Linked DNA regions of Homo sapiens: region 1 is linked to region 2. Evidence: promoter capture Hi-C in human tissues and cell types (Jung and others, 2019). All regions are on one chromosome and are shown on one strand. Each heading gives the region's core, a stretch centred on a gene start or on the middle of the fragment in contact. The rest is flanking DNA. Distances are from core to core; before and after follow the strand shown. Region 1 overlaps POLN (DNA polymerase nu). Region 2 holds the start of NAT8L (N-acetyltransferase 8 like).

Region 1 (6,679 bases), core at 1,514-4,013, 160 kb before region 2:
ACTGGGTCTTACTGTGTTGCTCAGGCTGGCCTCAAACTCTTGGGGTCAAAGTGATCTGCTTCAGTCTCCCGAGTAGCTGGGACTACAAGTGCACACCTGGCTAAATTACTGCATTTTTAAGAATGAAGCATTAAGAATGAAGATGTTAACTGGTCGAGTCATCCTGCAACGTGGTTAACCACATAACCATTAAGAGTGAACCATAACACCTGATAGGCATCTCTGGGTTTAGGGAGTGGAGGCAGCATATTCCACATTGGGAATACTGCATAGGAAAGCATCCTGTAAGAGGCCTAGGCTGTGAAGCAAGTGGCTCAGCTACTTGGACTTCCAACCCAACAGACCTTGTGATGTTAGAGGTATCTGTAGTGGGGAAAGATGCCATGTGAAGCTTAAGGCAAAGCCCCAACAGAAGAATCTCAATGCAGACTCCTAGAACTCTGGAGCAAGGCAATGCTATCTGCAGAAACAAATTATAAATTTTTCAAAAACAAAACTGTCATGCTACTGGGCCCTGGTAGAGATGGAGCGTGAGGCCATGGTGACATCAAGTGACCATGAGCCAGAACTGCCAGCATGAGCTGGTTCTGTCAGACCCACTGAGAGGTGGGCATGCAGCTGTCCATTGCAAGTTGGAAGTGGCTCATTTAGTACTAGGTACAAGCAGGCACAACCAAGCTTTTCATGTGGCCCAGAACCCATGACATCATTGGTGCTGGCACTGGTACTTCTGACGGGGGCAGCCTTAAGACCAGCTGATGGAGGCAGGAAAAGTTAGAGCTTGGTTCATGGTGGGTGGGCTCTGAACAGCCTGATTTAGGCAGCCCTGGAAGACAGTGCTCAAGGGAAACCCAATGGGTAGAACGTTGGGTGGTGCCCCTTGACTATCTACTTTGTGTGGAAGGAGAAGTGGCCCCAGTGTTAACACATTTGGAACTCTTGGGCAGCGGTTAGTGGCTTGACAGGTTGCTCAGGTACCTGGAATGAGAAAGATTGGAAGATCAGGGAGTTCCTGGAGTAAGGCATGTGGAGGGATCTGTGGGAACAGTCACGAAGTACTTCCCACCCAAGAACATTCACCATGGGGACACACCAAACCACCACATTAATAGGATGACTTGGCCAGTTGACATCTAGCCTCTGCCATCTGCTGCGCCCATGCTGGCACACTGGGCTCTCTCATGGAGTAATCATGGGGTGGGTAGATGCTGTGCATGGCCCATAGCATGGGGCTCCCCCTCACCAGAGCTGACCTAGCTATTTCTCTGCAGAACATCCAATCTTCCAGCAACAGAGACCAAACACTGAGTCCCCAGTTGTACCTTCCTTGGAGGGAAACAGTCATTTGACAACACTGAACCCCTTGTGCCCTAGAAGGTACAGTGATTCATCTTGGCCAGAACCAACACACGTTACAGGCATGGGTTTGCCTTTCCCATTCTCATGGATTCAGTCAGCTCCATCACCCAAGTTTCACAGAGTGTTTGATCCACAGGATCCTGCGCTCAGCCAAGGAACTGCAGCAGTGGGCACATGAGAGTAGGACTCACTGTCTCCCTCACAGCCACACACCAAGAAGCTGCCAGCCTGATGGAGCAGCAGGATGGTCTGTGGAAGGCACAGCTCACCTCGTGTGCAGCCTGGAGGTGACACCTGTGATGAAGCAGTCACCTCCAGGGTGCAGTCTGCACTGCAAATCACTAACCAGTACGTGGTGCAGTGTCCTTGGTTTGTGTAATAAATGGGTCTGGGAACCAAAAGGTGAAAGTCATCACTCCCAGTGACCCACTTAGAAATCTGTATTTCTCCCTCACACTCCTCTGGGTTCTTAAGGTTTAAAGGTCTTGACTCTCAAAGGGAAAACCTTTCCAGCAGGGGCACAGGAAGAACGCCATTTAATTTCCAGCTGTGGCTGCTGTCTGGTCATTTTGAGCTCCTTGTGCCAAGAGACTGGCTGGCAAGGAATGTAATTTCCATCTTCTGGGGTGGCTGACCGTGGGCGTCAGGTGGAGGTAGAGCTGTTACTACATAACTGGGGGCAGGGAAGCACCCAGGTGATGTGATTGGCCACCTCATGGTCCCCTGCCCAAATTTGATGGCAAATGCTGGGGCTATGGCCAGAGAAGGGCATGGTGGCCAGGGGCTTACCTCTCAGGGATGAGGGTTTGGGTTACCTGATCAGGTAAGCTAAGCCACCTAGAGCAGCAGAGGAGATAGGCAAGGGTGAGGAGTTAGCATGGGCAGTAGAGGAGGGAGATGAATGTAATTTGCAACCTTGAGGCCAGCTGCAGCAAGATGTAGTTCATCCCAGTGCCTTCCTTTTATAAATTTCCCAAGGAAAAGGCCCGCCAGAATCCTACAGGAGCTGCTCCCAGAACGTCCCTGAAGCAAGTGGCTATGAGCAGTGCAGTGTGGAGTGTAGCAAGCACTGTGGTTCCCATATGCCCCTTTAGTACTGAAGCACTGTCCCTGCTCCTGGGACAGCCCCTCCCTGATTGCCTGGCTGCAAAGAACTTCTTTGCCCAAGGGCCCACCCCTTCCCCAGGAGTGACTGGTCCAGTGACTAGTTTGTGCAGGGGTATAAAAGCCCAGCTGTCTTGACCCATTGGGAGACACATCTGTAGGACCATGCTCAGCTCAGGGCAGGCCTTTGAGTGACTGCATCTTAGCCATTGTCTTCCTTGGTTGGATTCTGCTTCCTTCACTCTCCAATCACCTTTTCAAATGCAAACCTTCATCACAGAGGTGGTCTCCCAGGGTACCCGAGTGTTATGTGCGTAACATCTTCGTGTGCATAAGCGGGGAGATTTGGTCATTATTTTTAAAAATGAGGTCATCATCTTCAGTCAACCACTATAGCTGGAGTCATTTTCCCCCCTGCAATCTATGTTTTAACAAGGTCATTCTTTTTAGTGGCTATGTATTTCATGATGTGGATATTATGTAATTTATTCCTCAGTTTTCTTCTGATTGGTATCTACTTTATTTTCAGTCCTTTGCCATAATGAGCAATACTGCTATAAACATTTTGGTTTAAACCTGTTTACTGTTGCATATATTTCTGTGAAACAGCCAAGAGTGAGATTATTTGGTTAGAGATTATTTGGTTAGATGATGGATATTATTTCCTATCTGTTTTTGTTAAGGCAAGAGCACTCTGTCTCTCATATATATATGGCTGAGGTATATACATATATATGTATATGTATATACATATATATGTATATGTATGTGTATATGTGTGTGTGTATATATATAAAACAGCACACATATCCTAAGTTTAGTTTAGGTCAAAATTTCACAAACCCAAACCCAGTTCAGGAAACATAACTAGCATTCCCAGAGGCCCATCTTGAGCTCCCTGTGGGTCACTTTCTCCACCCAACTCCCAAAGTGATGTATGCATTATTAATTTTAATAAGTCTTGACAGTTTGCCTTCTAGAAAGAGTCTATTTACATTTTTACCAGCAATACATGAGACTACCTCTTCCCCTGTGTTTCCAGTTATAGTTAATTTGCGTTTCCCTGAGTATTGTATTTGTTTCCTCTTTGGGTTTTCTGTTTTGTGTATTGCCTCTTCCTATTCTTTGCTCATTTTTCTGTTGAATTGTTTGTCTTATCTTGTAAATGTATGAGAACTTGTTGTATAATATAGCAGTTAACCCTTTGTCATTTTTGTTCCAAATAGTTTTCCCAATGCATTTATTTTCTTTTTGATGTGGTGCTAGTTATACCAGCCCTATTAATTAATCTATCCTTTTCTATTGAATTGAAATACTATCTTTGTTGTATATAAAGTCTTGGGATCAGTCTCTGGGTTGTCTGTTCTCTTCTAGAGGTCTTTTCTCTCTCTCTTTTTTAAGCTTACTTTTTTTTTTCCCAGGACAGAGTCTTGCCCTGTAACCCAGGCTGGAGTGCAGTGGCGCAATCTCGGCTCACTGCAACCTCCACCTCCCGGGTTCAAGCAATTCTCCTGCCTCAGCCTCCCAAGTAGATGGGATTGCAGGTGCTTGCCACCACACCTGGCTAATTTTTGTATTTTTAGTAGAGGTGGGGTTTCACCATTTTGGCCAAGCTGGTCTCGAGCTCCTGACCTGAGGTGATCCACCCACCTCAGCCTCCCAAAGTGCTGGGATCACAGGCGTGAGTCACCACGCCCGGCCTAAGCTTACATTTCTTGTCTTTTCGTACTTTGAAATTATTTTATTAAATTAAAATATCCCTGTAGGGTCTCCAATTGGAATTGCCTTAAATTTAGAAGAATTAAACATTTTGTGATCTATATCCTAATGCTGTGTCTTTTCATTTGTACAGATCTTTTTTTATGCCATTTAATAAGATTTTACATTTTCATCATTGAGGGCCTTGTATCTTTTTTGTTATATTTATCCTAAGTATAATGTTTTTATATTGTAAGTGAAATATTTTCCCCTATTTGCATTTCAGGTTGTTATTGTTCCTGCAGAGGAAATGTATGTCACAGTGGTTAAGAGCACAGACTCCCAAATCCTATTGCCTGGGATTGGATCCTGGTTCTGTCACTTACTGTTCAGCCCAGGCTTATTGAAATTAAATCAAAATCTAAATTAGAAGTTTGTTTTAATGATGTTTTACTGAACCTTCAATTGTTCCACTGCAGTATTCAGTCTAAGAATTTCCCCAAACCTTTAATCCTTTTAAGGTTTCTATAAAAGTTGACCTTGGGTTTTTAGAGTCATGTATTCAAATGCAAATGTCAAATAATGATTTTTAATAAATGTTTTATGATTATATAGAGTTATCTTCAGTTAACTTGAAGGTACTTTACATAAATATTTATTGCAATGGTACTAAGCATTTTACTTGTGAATTTTATTACATTGTTTTAAGTAAGTTAATAATGAATAAATAAGCATGATTATAGAGGTTATTTCAGTGTTTAGTTAACTGTGTGACTTAGATATCAATGTTTCTTTAATGCCCCATGTTTCTTTTTTGTTGTTTTTAAAAGCTATGGAAGTGATAAACAAGTCCAGTGTTAAGTATTCAGTACAACTTGAAGACAGGAAGACTCAATCACCAGAAAAAAAGGTAAATCATTGCACATATGAGTAATTTTAAATAGATAACTTATTTGTTCAATAGATGCTTATTAAGTGTTCTACTGTGTGCTAGGCACTGTAGATACCACACCTTAAAAAAAAAAAAAGAGGCGTTCTTGCTCTCCAAGAACTTATAGTTTAATTTGGATGCAGGGAGGGGCAAGTAGGTGCCATGAGAGAAGTTAGTTCAGAGTGCTCTGGGGACAATAGGAGGAACATCTAACTCAGTTTTTGTGCTATTTCATTTTGCCCTCCTGGGTGTTGAGGAGAAGAGTCAGGGATGTCTTTCTGAAGTATGAAAATTATATCTGAGTTGAGATCTATTGGATAATTAGGAGGTGATCGACCTAGGCTGGATGCAGTGGCTCACACAGGTAATCCCAGCACGTTGGGAAGCTGAGCAGGGTGGACCACTTGAGGCCAGGAATTTGAGACCAGCTTGGGCAACATAAGGAGACCCTGTCTCTACAAAAAATAATACAAAAAAAAAAAAATTAACTGGGCATGGTGGCATGCTCCTGTAGTCCCAGCTACTCAGGAGGCTGAGGCTGGAGGATCACTTGAGCCAAGGATTTTGAGGCTGCAGTGAGCTGTGATTGCACCACAACACTCCAGCCTGGGCAACAGAGCAAGACTCAGTGTCTAAAAAATAGAAATAAAAAATAAAAAGATCCCCACCTTTAAGGGAGTAGAGGCAAAACATTGAGAAATTTTTCAGATAAGGGAAGAAAGCTTGGAACTTTGGGTAGTGGAAATAATAGAATTTCAGAAAGGCAGGGCTATAACATTCACAATGGGTGAGTTATGTGGTGTGGGCCAGAGAGGTCGTATCACCAAAGACCTTGTGTATGAAAGTGGTGCAGGCAACATAGTGGTTAAGAGAATGGACTTTGGAGTAAACTACCTGTGTTCAACTCCCAACCTAATTAAATTTAAACCTAAATGCCCTATAGTAAAGTGAGATAATAGGACCTGTCTCTTGGGTTGATGGGATGATTATTTGCCCCTGGGTTCATAGGATGATTATCTGCCCTTGGAGTGGAGGGAAGAGGCATCTTCCACAGAGAAGGGACTCTTCTCTTCTTCCCTCTGTAAATGAATGGAAATTGTATCTCTCAGTGGTGAACAGACTGTGCTCCTTGGATCCCGAAGGCAGGGGTCTGCAAACTTTTTGCTCCCTTTCTCTCAAAAGAATTTTGTTGTTTTTGTTTGTTTGTTTGTTTGAGACAGGCCTTCACTCTGTCACCCAGGGTGGAGTGCAGTGGTGTGATCACAGCTCACTGCAATCTCTACCTCCACCTCTGCAACCATGCCCAGCTAATTAATTGAGTCCTGGACTCAAGTGATCCTCCCAACTCAGCCTCCCAAGTAGCTGAGACTACAGGCACACACCATCATTGCCCAGCTAATTTTTGTATTTTTGGTGGAGACAGGGTTTCACCATGTTGCCCGGGCTGGTCTCAAACTCCTGGGCTCAAGCGATCCTCCCACCTCGGCCTCCCAAAGTGCTGGGATTACAGATATGAGCCCCCATACCTGGACTTCTCAAACTATCTGTACTGCCTGACATATTTTAAAGTTGAAATTTAAAATCCTT
Region 2 (7,010 bases), core at 3,628-6,127:
AGGCCGCGCCGGGCGGCGGGCAGGCGGGCAAAGGCGGACAGGGCGGCCGGGGGGGCGGGCGGGCGAGCGGCGGCGGTCACTCCTCGCGCAGCTGCAGGCGGTAGCGGTGGTAGCGGACCTGGAAGAAGAGGCGCTCAGCCAGCGAGAGGGTCATGCCCGGCAGCACGTAGTGGTCACTGGCGCCCATGTGTCTGAAGCCCAGCGACTCGTAGAGCTTGTGGGCGGCCACCTTGACGGCCGTCGTGCCCAGCACCACCGCGGAGTAGTTGTGCACCACGGCGAACTCCAGCACCTTCCGGCCCAGCGCCTTGGCGATGCCCTTGCCTCGGAAACGTGAGTCCACAGACATCCGCAGCAGCTCCACCGTGTTGTCCTCCTCGTGGGCCCGTGCAGCCACAATGCCCACCACGTTGCCATCCAGCACGGCCACCCAGAAGCAGGAGCCTGCAGGGGATAGGGCGGTCAGGGACACCCGGTGAGGAAGGCTGGGGAGACCCCTCCACCTCTGGGGTGAGACAGGGCCCTTGGCACTGCCCCCTCCAGCTGGACACCAAGCCAGGGCAGTGGGACACCCAATCCCGGCAGCCCCCGGGGCCTAGCTACCAGCTCTGCTGGAGCCAAGGGAGGGGGCAGCCACTATTCAGGACAAGCAGGTAGAGCCCCCCTCCAGAGCTCCTTAAGCAGAGAAAGCCAGCCCAACACCTGTTACCCAACAGGCCAACAGCCAGGACCCACTCAAGCCTGGAGGCTGCGCTGCTCAGAGTAGTGGTCAAAGGCCCGAGTCCCTCCTCTGAGACCAAGAGCTGGGGCAGGCTTTGCCCAGTCAGGCCGCTGCCCTCTGCCCAGCTACTCCCAGACCAAATGCCTTGATGGCCCGGGCCACCCTGAACAGGCCATGGTGCAGCCAAACTGCTGTGGCTTCTGGCCACCCAGGGTCACCCGGGCCATCACGGCAAACTCCAGCACCCACAGCAGAGGGCCGCAAAGGGCAGGGGTCAGCAAAGTGCGTCCAGAAGGCTCCCTGCAGCCCAGGAGGAGCTTTCCTATAAATCCAAGTGGGGGACAGGGGATGGCCCCTCTGGCCCCGGCCTCTCCTGGCAGTAGGCCAAGTGGCCAGGCCATCACCCCATCCACAGCACGGCCCAATTCTCACCTCGAGTCAGGCACGAAGCCAGGAGGTGGCGGTCGTGGGGGAGGGGAACCGGCAGGGGAGGAGGAGAGGTGCAGGGGCAGGTTGGGGCGGTTGTGGGAGGGAACCTGCAGGCACTGGCCACAGGGGAAGCCCAGCCACCTCCAGCAGCCAAAGGCAGAGGTGGCACCCAGAGACCTCTCTGAAGACCAAGGGTTTGGCCAGTGGAGGGCCACACAGCCTGCCTGTGGCCCATCCAGCCTCCTACTCAAGGAGGCTCTGCACCTGCCCCGAGCCCCGGGAAGCCCTCCCATCCCTCCCCATTGCCCCTCTGCACAGCCACCAGCCTGCTGGCTCCATGAAGGGGACCTCTGTCTCCTTCACTGCTGGACACTGAGGCCTGGCAGGCAGCTAAAGGGGTACTGAAGGCCCTTCAAGGAGAAGCAGCGTGGGGGGGAGCCACTGGGCACCGCTGCCATCGCCACAGACACGAGCAGCTGGGCCCTCCAAGCTTTGTGCAGCTCCAGGGTTCCCAGGAGGGCTGCCCCTCCTCGGCCCCCTGTCCTGGAGCCCCTGGGGTCTCCCACACCCAACCCCCCATCTCCCTACCCACACAGCATCTCTACCTCCAAGGAGGGGATCCTGGACCAGTATCCCTCCCACCAGCTGGCCTGCCCACCACCCAGGGGTTCTGCCTCTACCTACCCAGGCAAGACGAGAGATCAGGGCCATCCCAGAAGTAGCAACCCCCAGCACCATGTGGCCCTGGGCACACCTCACTCCTCCCAAGACTCGGTTTCCCCATGTGCACAAGCAGCTCCCAGAATCCACCACGGGCCATCAGCAGCTATCCAGCCTCTGCCCTCGTGGGGTGTTCCTGCAGCCCTGCCAGCTACCCCTCCACTCCCTCACACCAGGGAGGCCACGGCCCAGAGGGAGCAGGGCCATGCCCCGTGTGCCCACCGGAGCCCCCTGTGTTGCTGTGGCCTGTGCTTCCTCATGGCCCGTTTCCCCTCCCAAGCAGAGGCTGGCCAGGGCTCAGGGGCTGCTCAGATGCTCTGTTTGGGTTTAGGAAAGGGTCAGGGAGAGCAGCAGGCACCAAGGCCGTGGCGCGGGGGTGGAGCATGGCAGCCAGCGGTGCCAGACACTGCCCCTCCCCTGACACTGACCGGGCTCCTGACAGACCCTGCCCAACCCTTTGGGCCACACTCTGTCCCTCTCGTTGGCCTACAGACGCTCCAGGATCGCAGAGAGCCTCCCACCCCAGAGAGCAGAGTCTTCACCCCTGCGGCATCCGGCATGGGGGAACCGGTGTGGCTCAGCGGCTGGGGGCCAGCCCGAGGGTGGAGAACAACCCCCACCCCCCCTAGAGCCCAGACCCAGCTCCTCCAGCTATAGAAGGCCACAGAGGCTGGGACAAAACCCTTCAGCTAAGCGGCCCAGCGATCAGGCCAGAAGTGAAGGCCAAGGCTCAAGGTCAGGTCCCCTGCCCCCACCCCATCCTCTGTGCCCCAATAGGGTCCCCGGCCCCTGCCACACAAGCCCTCTCCCCCCAGGACCCTGGCACTGCAGGCAACCCCATCCCCGCAAGGCACACCAGATGGGACCCACAGAGCCCAGCGGCCCTTGCCCCACCGCAGCAGGCGCCAGGGAGACGCATCCACAGCAGGGAACGGTGGAGCCACTGCGTCGCAGGGCCAGCTCAGGTCACTCAGCGGGAGGAACCGGCCGTGCCTCCCCCAGCCCCGCTGACACCGGAGGCCTCGGTCACCCAGAAGGCTCAGGTCACAGGGGCCCCGGCTCAGGCCCACCCACGCCGGCCCTCGCCCAGGCCTGCCCTGAGGTCGCTGGAGTGCGTGCCCCCGAGGGCTGTCTGGGGCGGAGGTCGGGGAGCGGCGGGAGCGGGACTCACCGGGCGGCTTCATGTAGTACTGCTCGATGTCCGCCATGTCCGTGTGCAGCGCGCACTCCAGGTAGGCGCGGATCACCTTGCGGCTGTAGTAGTAGCGCAGGCCCAGCAGCGCGGCCGGCACCAGGCACGTCAGCAGCAGCGAGCGGCTCACGGCGAAGCACAGCGCTGGGGGCAGAGGGCGCGGGTCAGCGGCGCGGCGGGGGTCCCCAGGCCCCAGAGACGCCACCCCGGCGAAGCCCGCTAGGGACGCCGCGCCCGGCCGCGCTCCTGGTGGAGGAGCCGGGGTCATCTCGGGTGCTTTCTACTTCTCCCTATTTCCAAGCTTCCTGCGGTGAAGACAGCCACCCCACCCACCCCCACCGCCTGGAATGAGCCTCGGCGGGTCTCTGAGCTTCCAAACACGGCAGGACACCCTCGGGATGGCCGGGCCGGGAAGGACTCTGCCCACGCTGGCCTACTGAAGCCAAGGTGGGCAGATCCTGGCAGGGAGCTGCCCCGCAGACCAGGCCCCGCGCGGGGGAGGGGGGAGGGGGGAGGAGGAAGGGGGGTGTCCCACGTTCCAGCCTCGGGCTCCAGGACCCCCTCTTCCCAGGGCCCCAGCAAGAGCCCTTCCTGGCCAGCGTCCGGGAGCTCTGAGGGCAGGGACAGGGCAGGGAGGCCCCACACCGCTTCCAGCCGCATTTCGGCTGCCGTGACCTTGGGGGAGTCGCGTCCTCCCTACGCGGCCTCAAGCGCCTCATCTGTAAAATGGGAGCGAACCCCCTCACCCCGGCAGGAAGCTCTGAGGGGAAGGGCACCCAAAGACGCTGAAGGGGCCGCCCTCTGCGACCGCCCCGGCTGTGCCAGGCGCGCGCACCCCCCGCGGCGCCGGCTGTCTTCCCCTCATAAATTAGCACCGAGCGGGAGGCGGCCTCCCCCGCCCGCAGATTATATTTAGGCACTCGCCGGGGCCCAGCCGCGGCGGGCGCTACCTGCCCTGGCACCCGCCCCCACCCAGGATGCCCGGGAGGGGACAGGGGAGGCGGTGGGGGTGGGGGGCTGCGCGGCGGGGACGCAGGTGCGGACCCCGGACCCTCCCCGGCTCCGGCCCGCTCGGGGCCCTGCGCCCATCCCCACGCCCATAGCCAGCCCTGCGCGGGGCCCGGCGCGGCAGAAAGCGGGGGGCTTCCCAGGCTGGTCCCCGGGAGCCGGGCGCGGGGTCCGCGTGGACGCCGGGGCGGGGGAGCTCCGCGCCGGCCCGAGGGACTGCGGCAGCCGGGGGCCCGGCGCACTGACCCGCCAGCAGGGCGTAGAGCAGCTGCGCGCGCGGGTGCTGCCGCAGGCCGCGGAAGGCCGTGTTAGGGATGCGCTCCATGATGCCGTCGTAGAAGATGCGGCGCGCCGCCTCCTGCTCGGCCGCACGGAACTCGCGGATGCACACGCCGCGCCCCCCCGGCGGCCCCGCGCCCCCCGCCCCGCCGTGAGGCTGAGCCACCGGGGCAGGTGGGGGCGCGGGGGGCGCGGCGGCCGGCCCGGGCGCGGCGGGCAGCGGGGGCCACATGGCGCCGGCGGCGGCGAGCAGCGCGTCCTTCTTGGCCCCCGGCAGCGCCTCATGGTCCTCGGCGGCCACGATCTTCGTCTCGCAGACCATGTCGGGAGGCCCACAATGCATGCACCCGGCCGGGCGGCGCGGCAGCGGGGACGCGGCCGGGCGGCGGCGGGCACGGCCGGGCCCAGGGCAAGGGCGCGGCGCCCTCGGACCCGCGGCGGCGGCGGCGGCGGCGGCAGCGGCGGCGGCGGCGGCGGCAGCTCAGGGGCGCGGGGCGGAGGCGGCGGGCGGCCGGGGCGCGCGCAGGGAGCTGCGCCGCATTTTGGAGAAGTATTTATAATGCGGCGGCGCCGGTGCAGTCGCGGCGCCCGCGGCCCGCAGGGTCCTAGCGTCCACTGCATTGGCTGCCGGGGGTCACCATGTGATCGCGGGGGTGGGGGAGACGCCGCCCCCGCCTCGCCGGGTGGCTCGCTGGGCGCGACGGGGCGGCCGGGCAGCGCGAGGGGCCCGGCACGGGCGGGGGCGGCGGCGCGGGCGGGGGCTCCTGGCCCGGGGGCGTCCGGCGGGGCTCGGGACCCGGCCGCGGAGCGCGTGATGGGCGCCGCCCGCCCCGCCCCCCGCTCCCACGCCGCGCGCCTGGGAGCGCCCCGACCCCGGGCCCGACCGCTGGCGATCGCGGCGCCACGTCCTCCTCCTCCTCCTCCGCGGCCGCCCGGAGCAGTCACGGCAGCGTCTCCCGCTCCGTCTCCTGCCTTTGTTTGAAAGCAGCGCCCGCGGTGGACCTGGGGAGAGGGCGCCGCGGCTGCCCCGGCCCGGAGCCCCCGGGAAGCCTCGTCCGGAGCCGCACGGGCAGCCGGAGTGGGGACGCGGAAGGGCGGGGTCTGCGGCCTGGCGCGGCGCCCCCCTGTCCGAGCCCCGCAGTGGGCACGGGGATGCGGGGCCCGCAGGACCCCTCCCGGCCCGGCCCCCGCCCCCCGCGGCCGCGCATGCGCCCCGTGGCCTCGGTGCAGGTGCAGCGGGGGCTCTGCGCCTTGTAGGACCTGCAGACGCCGCAGGCTGGGGCGGAGAAGCTCAGGTGCGGGGAGGCGGTCGCAGACCCCATCCTCGGCGCTTCTCGAACCTAGCCCCCTTCAGTTCTGCGCGACCTCCCAGCACCACCCCGAGGGCTGCCGGAGCAGAGCTTCCCCGACATGCGCGGGCGGGACGGGGCCAGGGGTCCAGGCCTGGGGACCCGCAGTCTGCGTTGTGCGGTGGAGTTGGGGCCAGCCGGGCAGCTGAGGTCACCTGAAGGCCAGGAGGGGCTGGGCCTGCCCGTGGACGTGGGAGTGAGGCCGCAGCGCCCTGGTGGGGTGGGGAGGGGCGGCTGAACTGGTCCACAGCCCCGTCCGCCAGAGAACGGGCCCTGGAGAGGGGCAGGGGACGGGGTGGGGGCGTGGGGGGGAGGGGAAGCCAAGCTGGGAAGGCGCCCCCTCAGTGTCTGGGGCCCGCTGTCAGCTTTTCAACCTAAAGGAGAAAACAGGCAAAACGAATAGAAATAGTTTGTTGGGGCCAAGTTTGAGGACTGCAGCGTGGAAGGACAGACTCAGGTTGGTCTGAATGCACGCGCTCTCATTCGCAGCAGTTGCAAGTGCGTTTTTAAAGGAAAAATGAAGACGCAGCTCCTAAATTCACCAAGAATTTGCATTAAAATGGCATAAGCTATTGATTGGTGTACATTATTTGTCACAAATTCCAGGAACATGAAGATGACGCTGAGGCGGCCAGGCGGACACTATAGGAAAGAAAAGAAAGAACAAAATGCCTTCCAGCAGTTGCCCCGGGCGTGAGTGGGGAGGCGGGACTGAGGCCCTGTACTCAGGTGTCTCTGGGCCAGATAATCTTTGAGAATCCCACATAGCTCCGGCTATTTTTCTTTTCTCATTTCTCGTGTTTGATCAAAAATTTTCTCTTCTCAAAGCAGTGATGATCGACATTCTAGATGTAAGTTTTTCTGCTGGGAAGGCTCATTCCCGGGCCATCTCACCCCGCATGGGGGGAAAGAGGACAGGTGCGGTGGGCGCTTAAGAACTTCGTGAGGCCTCAAGGCCAAGGTTGATTGGCACGGGGTCTGTCAGGCCGTCTGCTATGAAGGAGCCACGCATACCGGATGGCTTCTGAGCATCTAGCTAGCATCCTCGGGGTTTTTTGGTTGACTTTGGACATCTAGAAACACAAAGCCTAATCAATTTAAGAATGAAAAATATGGGCCGGGCGTGGTGGCTCATGCCTGTAATCCCAGCACTTTGGGAGGCCGAGGCGTGTGGATCACGTGAGGTCAGGAGTTTGAGACCAGTCTGGGCAACATGGTGAAACTGCGCCTCTACTAAAAATACAAAAATTAGCCGGGTGTGGTGGCAGGCGCCTGTAATCCCAGCTACTTGGGAGGCTGAAGCAGGAGAATC

The links. The method cuts DNA at HindIII sites, captures the fragments that hold promoters and counts their contacts. A contact is called where the count stands out against the background at its distance.
Region 1: a contact is called between a fragment that was not itself captured here and the fragment with the promoter of NAT8L in region 2, in 2 of the 25 tissues and cell types used here (bladder and dorsolateral prefrontal cortex).

Annotation. Positions count from the first base shown.
Region 1 is chr4:2,211,439-2,218,117 of GRCh38, reverse strand. It overlaps POLN (DNA polymerase nu), which reads left to right. Exons shown (of 26, transcript NM_181808.4): 4 at 4,992-5,071. Among named protein-coding and RNA genes, the nearest start is that of HAUS3, 27 kb to the left of the region's middle. RefSeq lists a silencer at 2,342-2,636. The HindIII fragment of the contact is 4,456 bases long and covers 536-4,991 here.
Region 2 is chr4:2,057,194-2,064,203 of GRCh38, reverse strand. NAT8L (N-acetyltransferase 8 like) reads right to left here and starts at 4,877. Exons shown (of 3, transcript NM_178557.4): 1 at 4,317-4,877; 2 at 3,042-3,206; 3 at 1-444. The coding sequence starts at 4,692. The coding sequence ends at 77. The HindIII fragment of the contact is 12,290 bases long and covers 2,503-7,010 here.